3 separate regions of the Homo sapiens genome follow, and regions 2 and 3 are each linked to region 1. The links are contacts of gene promoters, found by promoter capture Hi-C in human tissues and cell types (Jung and others, 2019). All regions are on one chromosome and are shown on one strand. Each heading gives the region's core, a stretch centred on a gene start or on the middle of the fragment in contact. The rest is flanking DNA. Distances are from core to core; before and after follow the strand shown.

Region 1 (3,065 bases), core at 358-2,857:
GGCCCGGCTCACCGCCCCGCCCGGTACTGTCCGGCAACCCCCACGTCTCTTGTCCTCTCCAGCTCCAGTTAAGTCCTGGAGCGCCTCCAGCCTGAAGACCCATGCGGGCAGCTGAGCGAATCCCGCGGGCGATCCCTGCGCGCCTGGGGACGGGAAGCAGCCAGAGCCGGCGCACACACACAACCTTGTGTGTGCGTGTGTGTTTACGTACGGAACGCGCGGGGTGGGAAAACAATGGCGAGCCGCTGGGAACTGAACGACTACCCGCTCCGCATCTCCCTACCCCTAGGCGCGATCAGCGTTTGCAGCGGAATCGGGATGAAAAGGCTCACCTACGATATCCCAGGGCGGGAGGTGGGGGTAGCAAGAAGCAGCCTGCGGTGGGGGTGGGGGTGGGACAGGAGCAGCCGGAGCAGAAAACAAACAGGATGCCGCGCTGGTCTGGTCCGCTGGGGAACGACCCTGAAACCGTGGCAAGGGGAGCGCGTCTGTCCCCCAGCACCCCACGCAACCATGGTGGAGGAGCTCTGCGCCTCGTCGCAGGCACCTGAGCCCCACGCAGGACGCGCGCAGGTCGCTTCGGCTTCCCGCTGAGAAATCCTTAAACTAGGCGCATAGTCGGGCTGATGAGAAAGACCTAGTCCTCTGCGGTCGGCGAGGAGCGGGTTGGGGGTGCACCCTAAGCTCGACCCGCGTGGTGAACGCGCGCGCGCGCGCGCGTACACACACACACACACACACACACAAACACACACACAGCCACGCACTGCCTTAGAGGCTGCCATCCCTCTCCACAAGGACCCAAGTCGGCCAGGGAGGAGCCGCCACTGCCCAGCGTTGTTGGGGGTAGGTGAGGGTCCGTCTCTCCTCGAAAAACTTTGCACAGGGTGGAAACTCGCAGGGAAGAGAGCCGGTGGGTGCCCAGAAACGTAGGGGCGCAAGTGTCAAACTTCAGAGAGCTGGGGAAATGGGCGCGACGGCGCGATCATGGCGGGGAGGGGTGCACTTACTACTCAGCCAGGCGCCGGGCTCGGGGCTCGGGGCTCGCGGCTCCGCGCTCCTGCTCCTCCTCCGTGCGGTCCTCGCGGCTGGCAGCCTAGGCTTCCCGCTCACATGCCCCCGCGACGCGGCGGGCGGGCCGGGTTGGGGAGGCTGGGCTGGGAGGGGGCACGCCCCCCGCCGTCGGCCGGGGAGTCGCTGCGGACCCACGGCCACCCTGGGTCCGCGCCCCACGGGGCCCGCCGTCCCGGGCGGCGAGCTTGGTTCCGGCCGGGCGGCGCCCTCTCCGCCGAGCCAGGCCGCTCTCTGCCCTCTGCCCTCTGCCCTGGGCTTGCGGCCGTCTCCCTGCCTTCCGCGGTCCTGCTCTGCGACTCGTCGGACGCGCAGCCGGCCCGCCCTCCCTGCTCTTCGGCTCTCACGCTCTCCGGCTCCAACCTCAGCGCCTCGGCTCGATTCCGAGTCAGGGCCTACGAGGCTGACCGCTGAGCTCTGGGCTCAGACCTGGGCTCGCCGGTTCTGGGCCCGGGTTCCAGGACCCGTGCTCACACAGTTCAGTTCCAAGCCGGGACTGGAGAAGGGCGCTCGCGGCTCGCTGCTGCGAGGCGACTGGACAGCCTAGAGGAGAAAGAGGGAGGGAGACCGAGAGCGCGCAGGGGGAGGAGGGAGGGAGGGTGGGGACTTGCAGAAGAAGGGAGGGACAGAGAGTTTCCTCCTCCTCCCTGCAGCCGGGTCCATCCAGGCATCAACAGCTGGAAACCTCTGTTGGAAAGGGGAAAGCTAAGGTTTACGGGCGGCGGGGAAGGGTGGGGGTGGAGTGAGGGGGTGTAGAGAAGAGAAGAAAGAAGGATTCTGCCCGCTCCCACTGCCCAGGTATGAGGGTCGCTACAGAGAATCTTCACTCCTTAAAGCAAGACCTAAGAAGTTATTGGTCCAGCTCCAAGCCTCCCAACCCCTCCAAACAGATAGCCTGGACTCGGGTTTTTTAAAAACCCCATTTCTCCGGACTTCCCTTAAGAACCTGATCTCTGCCGGGCGCGGTGGCTCACGCCTGTAATCCCAGCACTTTGGGAGGCCGACGGGGGCGGATCACGAGGTCAGGAGATGGAGACAATCCTGGCTAACACGGTGAAACCCCGTCTCTACTAAAAATACAAAAAATTAGCCGGGCGTGGTGGCGCGCCTGTAACCCCCTACTCGGGAGGCTGAGGCAGGAGAATCGCTTGAACCCGGGAGTGGGAGGTTGCAGTGGGCCGAGATCGCGCCATTGCACTCACTCCTGCCTGGGCGACAGGGCGAGACTCCGTCTCAAAAAAAACAAAACCTGATCTCACCTGTAGCTAGACGGATTCCTGATATCTCCAACCACTCCCTAATCCTGTCATTTGCAGCCTCTCAAATAAATCTTATTTTCTCCTGTCCCATTATATGGGAGGGTGGGGGAGAATGGAGAGTTGGTTTCCTTTCATTCAACGTATTTATCAAATGTCTACATATGACCGGGCGCAGTGGCTCACGCCTGTAATCCCAGCACTTTGGGAGGCCAAGGCAGCAGATCACCTGAGGTTGGGAGTTCGAGACCAGCCTGGCCAACATGGTGAAAACCCCTCTCTACTAAAAATACAAAAATTAGCCGGGTGTGGTGGTGCATGCCTGTAATTCCAACTACTCAAGAGGCTGAGGCAGAAGAATTGCTTGAACCCAGGAGGCAGAGGTTGCAGTGAGTGGAGATCGCACCACTGCACTCTAGCCTGGGTGACAGAGTAAGACTCTGTCTCAAAAAAAAAAAAAAAAAAAAGTCTACCTATGCCTGGCTTACCGGGGTGCTGGGGACACGAAGACAAATGAGACGGTGTCCTGCCCTTTCTGGATTCTGATTTTGTAAAGGAATGGGTGAATATACCATTGCAGTGAAGTGGAGAGGGCTAAGATAGGGCAGGCAAATGGGCACAGGGCCACCAAAGACACTGGGATATGGGGACTGGAACTTCTTGGGGGAGGTGGCATCTGAAATGGGTCTTGGAAGGACCTGTGGGTGTAGGGCAGATTAAAGGAGTGACAATCATGGA
Region 2 (2,993 bases), core at 247-2,746, 150 kb after region 1:
TAGCGAGGCGTGGTGGCGGGCACCTGTAATCCCAGCTACTCGGGAGGCTGAGGCAGGAGAATCACTTGAACCCAGGAGGCAGAGGTTGCAGTGAGCTGAGATGGTGCCATTGCACTCCAGCCTGAGTAAATAAATAAATAAAAATAAAATAAATAAATAAAATAAAATTGCACTCCTCTCTCCTGCCAGTTCACCTCTATTTTTCTTTGCTAACATCTGAACCATTCCTCCTTATTTTTTTTCTTCAACTGCATATGTGTATGCATTTGTTTGTCTGTCTCCACCACTAGGATGTAAGCTCCCTGAGAGTAGGGACTTTGTCCATTTGCTTTCTGCCATATCCCCAGTGCCTAAAAGAGTACATAGTACCTAGTGAGCACTCTGTAAATATACATTAGGTAGATGTATTCACCAAATAAATTTCATTTCTGTTTAAATCTGCCATAGTTGATTTCTGTTTCTTGCAACTTAACATGCTAAGAACCTTATCTGAGAGACATGTAAGACACTGGGAATCAAATTTTTCTCTCATTTAGTGACTTTGGGCAAAGTCACTTAGCACTCTGGGTCTCAGTTTCTTTATATATTGCCCCTCTTTGCTATAAGATAATTTTACAATTTTTTACAATGCCATATGTCTTTTTTTTTTTTTTTTTTGAGACAGAGTCTCACTCTGTCACCCAGGCTCGAGTGCAGTGGCATGATTTCAGCTCACTGCAAACTTCCCCTCCCAGATTCAAGCAATTCTCCTGCCTCAGCCTCCCAAATAGCTGGGACTACAGGCATGCACCACCACGCCCAGCTAATTTTTGTATTTTTACTAGAGATGGGGTTTCACCATGTTGGCCAGGTGGGTCTCAAACTCCTGACCTCAAGTGATCCTCCCACCTTGGCCTTCCAAAGTGCTAGGATTATAGGTGTGAGCCACTGCACCTGGCCAAAATGTCATATTTCAAAGCCACAATAGAATAATGGTTTTTCCAAAGTATATACAGTCATATAATGACATTTTGGTAATGACAGACCCCATGTACCATGGTGGTTCCATAAGATTAGAACGGAGCTGAAAAATCCCTATCACCTAGTGACATGGTGGCCCTCATCACATTGTAGCCGTTGTCATAGCACAATGCATTACTCTTATGTCTGTGGTAACGCTGGGCTAAACCAATCTATTGTGCTGCCAGTCATAGCACATACAATTATGTACAGTACATAATATGTTTTATTTTGTCTTATTATTTTCAAATATTTAGGGGTGCATGTACAGTTGTTTTACATAGATATATTGTATAGCGGGGAAATCTGGGCTTTTAGTGTACCCATCCCACAAACAGTATACATTGTGCACAATAGGTAGGATTTTATCCCTCACCCCCCTCCCATTTTCTACCTTATGGAGTCTCCAATATCTGTTATTCCGCTGTCTATATCTCTATGTAGCCATTGTTTAGCTCTCACCTATAAGTGAGAATACGTAATACTGATAATAAAAAAAACTTGATATTGATAAATAAGTATGTTACTGGTTTATGTACATACTATACTATACTTTTTATTGTTATTTTAGAATGTACCCCTTCTATTTATATATTTAAAAAGTTAACTGTAAAACAGTCTCAGGCAGGTCCTTCAGGAGGAATTCCAGAAGGAGGCATTGGTATCATTGGAGGTGACAGCTCCAGGCATATTGTGGCAACTGGAGACCTTCCAGGAGGACAAGATGTGGAAGGGAAGACAGTGATACAAATGACCCCGATCCTGTGTAGGCCTAGGCCAATATGTGTGCTTCTGTCTTCATTGTTAACAAAAATGTTTAAAAAGAAAACATTTAAATAGAAAAAAGCATATAGAATAAAGATATAAAGAAGAAATTTTTCGTGTAGGTGTATAATATGTTTGTGTTTTAAGTAAAGTGTTAATATGAAAGAGTCAAAAAGTAAAAAAAAAAAAAAAAGAAAAGGAAATTTTCAGGCTGGGTGTGGTGGTTCATGCCTATAATCCCAGCACTTTGGGAGGCCAAGGCAGGCAGATCGCTTGAGCTTAGGAGTTCAAGACCAGCCTGGGCAACATGGTGAAACCCTGTCTCTACAAAAAAATACAAAAATTAGCTGGGCATGGTGGTGCATGCCTATAGTCCCAGCTACTAGGAAGGCTGAGGTGGGAGGATCACATGAAACTGGGAGGCTACAGTGACCTGAGATAGCGCCACTGCACTCCAGCCTGGGGGACAAAGTGGAACCCTGTGTCAGAAAAATAATAATAATAATAATTTTATAAAGTAAAAAAGTTATAGTAGGTTAAGGTTAATTTATTATTGAAGAAAGAAAAATTTTAAATACATTTAGTGTAGACTAAGTGTGCAGTGTTTATTTTTATTTATTTATTTTTTTGAGACAGAGTCTCCCTCTGTCACTCTCTCTGTCTGGCTAGAGTGCAGTGGCATGATCTCGGCTCACTGTAGCCTCCACCGACCGAGTTCAAGCGATTCTCATGCCTCAGCCTTCCAAGTAGCTGGGACTACAGGTATGAGCCACCACACCCGGCTAAGTTTTGTATTTTTAGTAGCGATAAGGTCTCACCATGTTGGCCAGGCTGGTCTCGAACTCCTGACCTCAGGTGATCCACCTGCCTCAGCCTCCCAAAGTGCTGGGATTACAGGCGTGAGCCACCATGCCCAGCCTAGTGTGCAGTGTTTACAAAGTCTACAGCAGTGTACAGTAATGTCCTAGGCCTTCACATTCACTCACCACTCACTCACTCACTGACTCACCCAGAGCAACTTCCAATCCTGCAAGCTCCATTCTTGGTAAGTGCCCTATACGATTTTTAATCTTTTATACTATGTTTTTACTGTACTTTCCTATGTTTAGATACATTTAAATACACAAATACATACCATCCTATTACAACTGCCTACAGTATTCTGTAGGTTTGTATCTTAGGAGCAATAAACTATATCACACAGCCTAGATGTGTAGTAGGCCATGCCA
Region 3 (2,759 bases), core at 223-2,722, 220 kb after region 1:
ACTTTGTGGGAAGCCGCTTGGTCAGGTGCCGTGTGATTCCTGGCACAGCAGTGAGCACTGGTTTCTCTGCCACTTGGGTATTGCAAGAGGCTACATCTCCCCGAAGAGGTGTCAAGACTGATTTTTCCCTCTCCTGCTGTTTCTGCATGTGCTTCTCTCTCATGGTCTCACATCTCTTGACTTGAATTTTAGTGATGTCAACTCCTGTGGTCTCACCTGAAGCCTGTGGATAAATTTGAATGACAGAATTAAAATCTGGTACCTCTAATAACCTGTATGATGTAAGTACCAGGCTAACATCTAAGTTAAGCAGAATCTCACATGATCCAGAATCTGAGAGAAAAGCTCTTTATTTGATGTTAAATAGACAATACCCTGTTAAAGATGAAAGATTAGAATTACAGATGTATGGAATAATAAAAAACCCAGATTCCACAGGCTAGACAACCATGACTCTAAGTCAAATACTAATGATTCCTAAATAATCAAATACCTGCACAAAGATTTATGTACAAATATATTACTTTAAATTGTGTAAAACAAAATCTGAATGTCCAGAAAAAGACTGTATTTGTATAATGGAGAATCATGTGGTCAGTAAAAACAAACTTCTTGAAGAATTATTAACATGGTAAAGTTAAAGCAGGCTGTAAAATGATACACTGTAGAGTTCTCCATTATGTTCTAAACATGGGTTTAACATTAAACAAATTCACATGCATGCATATATAAACAAAAAGGTCGAAGAAGGCCAAGTGTGGTGGCTCACACATGTAATCCCAACACGTTGGGAGGCCAAGGCAGGCAGATCACTTGAAGCCAGAAGTTCGAGACCACTCTGGACAACATGGAGAAACTCTGTCTCTACTAAAAATACAAAAATTAGTCAGGCTTGGTGGTGCATGCCTTTGATCCCAGCTACATGGGAGGCTGAGGCACAAGAATCGCTTGAACCCAGGAGGCAAAGGTTGCAGTGAACCGAGATCATGCCACTGCACTCCAGCCTGGGCAACAGAGCAAGACTGAAAAAGCTCGAAGAAATCCATGGAAAAGATAATGATGGTTACATCTGAGCTGTATATTTTTAGGGTTTGTTCAGTTTTAAAAAAAATAAAATTTCCAACTTTTGTATGATGCATAGCATTAGAAAAAACTCAGTTAAAAAAAAGTAATGGCCAATTAAACAAAAAACTTTATTTTTTGTATTTTTAGTAGAGACGGGGTTTCACCGTGTTAGCCAGGACGGTCTCAATCTCCTGACCTCGTGATCCGCCCGCCTCAGCCTCCCAAAGTGCTGGGATTACAGGCGTGAGCCACCGCGCCCGGCAAACAAAAAACTTTAAAAGGGCAGCGAATACTGATATACATAGAACTACAGGAAATTCTCATAAGAAATTATAAGTAAAAAGAAAGACTGTTTACCTAATATATGAATGAAGTACTTAGAAATTTATTGTAAGGTAAAACTACCAATTATCTAGCCTTTGTTTGCCATGAACAAAACCATACAATAATCTTAAATTTACCTCTTTAGCTTCTGTTCTAATACTGCTCTGAGAATCAACTTCATTTCCTTCCTGAAGGTTCTTCTCTTCTTTCATCCCTGTATTCACATTAAAGACATCATTAGTTATTTTATTTAAGCTGCAACTTCATGATAGATATGTTAAACAAAACTTTATTTAATGAAAGTAGTAAGACAGGACAAATAAAATTACAGATAAAGCCCATCTGTGCTCCTAAAGTCTCAAAATACACATTAAAATAGCAAAGGTTGGCCGGGCATGGTGGCTCACACCTGTAACCCCAGCACTTTGGGAGACTGAAGCAAGCAGATCACACTTGAGGTGAGGAGTTTGAGACCAGCCTGGCCAACATGCTGAAACCCCATCTCTATTAAAAATACAAAAATTAGCGGGGTGTGGTGGCACATGTCTGTAGCCCCAGCTACTTGGGAGGCTGAGGCAGGAGAATCACTTGAACCTAGGAGGTGGAGGCTACAGTGAGCCAAGGTCATGCCACTGCACTGCAGCCTGGGTGACAGAGTGAGACTCTGTCTCAAAAATAAAATAAAACAAAATAGCATAGGTCTACATAGCACTACTGAAAAACTTCATTTAATTCAGTGTTTTCAACGTTATCTGAGTAAAGAAAGGTTGTCAAACAACTCCTAGGAAGATCCCACGGAACACTCCTCTGGAATATTATGTGGGGACGTGGTACTAGAGACCAAGTTCTCTTGTTACCTGTTCTTTTGGTGATTCGCAGCAGCCGCCTTGCCCCTGGAGTGGCCTCGTGTTGAGACGGGGAGCTGGTGCTGCTCTCAGAGCTCTGCTGCACCCTCAGTGCCTTCTCCAGTTTAATTTCTTCCAGCGTCTTGATGTGCACCTCCTGCATAGACTTTGTTTTACCTGCAGGCTCCTCTGATTGTCCTCTGCTGGCAACAATGGGTGGCAAAACTACTGTTTTTTTAATTTCACTATCAATCTTTAGCTTGATGCAAGTTGTATCCTTTTTGCTTTTTTGTCTCTCTGCTTCCTGCTGCCGATGTTTTTTTTCAGCCAGGACCTCAGAGAAGGTTTTGATACGGATAGTGGAGGAGCTTCTTGCTCCTGAAGTAGAATCATCAGTTTTTGAAGGTCCTTCTGTCTTGAGTTTAGTTTGCAATTCTCCACGTTTCTGACTGGCTCTTTCAAGAAGAATTTCTTCTAATGTCTTCACATGGATCTCACCAACTTTATTAACTTTATCTGTTTTCA

The links. Contacts are between HindIII fragments. The study calls those that stand out against the background at their distance.
Region 2: a contact is called between a fragment that was not itself captured here and the fragment with the promoter of SOX13 in region 1, in 1 of the 25 tissues and cell types used here (IMR-90 fibroblasts).
Region 3: a fragment that was not itself captured here is called in contact with the fragment with the promoter of SOX13 in region 1 in 1 of the 25 tissues and cell types used here (dorsolateral prefrontal cortex).

Annotation. Positions count from the first base shown.
Region 1 is chr1:204,071,657-204,074,721 of GRCh38, reverse strand. SOX13 (SRY-box transcription factor 13) reads right to left here and starts at 1,607. Exons shown (of 14, transcript NM_005686.3): 1 at 1,011-1,607. RefSeq lists an enhancer at 236-928. The HindIII fragment of the contact is 26,498 bases long and covers 1-3,065 here.
Region 2 is chr1:203,926,434-203,929,426 of GRCh38, reverse strand. No RefSeq gene overlaps it. Among named protein-coding and RNA genes, the nearest start is that of SNRPE, 66 kb to the right of the region's middle. The HindIII fragment of the contact is 9,626 bases long and covers 1-2,993 here.
Region 3 is chr1:203,847,175-203,849,933 of GRCh38, reverse strand. It overlaps ZBED6 (zinc finger BED-type containing 6), which reads right to left. Exons shown (of 17, transcript NM_001395895.1): 12 at 2,247-2,750; 13 at 1,527-1,603; 14 at 1-223. ZC3H11A (zinc finger CCCH-type containing 11A) reads right to left here. Exons shown (of 18, transcript NM_001376342.1): 13 at 2,247-2,750; 14 at 1,527-1,603; 15 at 1-223. Among named protein-coding and RNA genes, the nearest start is that of SNRPE, 13 kb to the left of the region's middle. The HindIII fragment of the contact is 5,303 bases long and covers 1-2,759 here.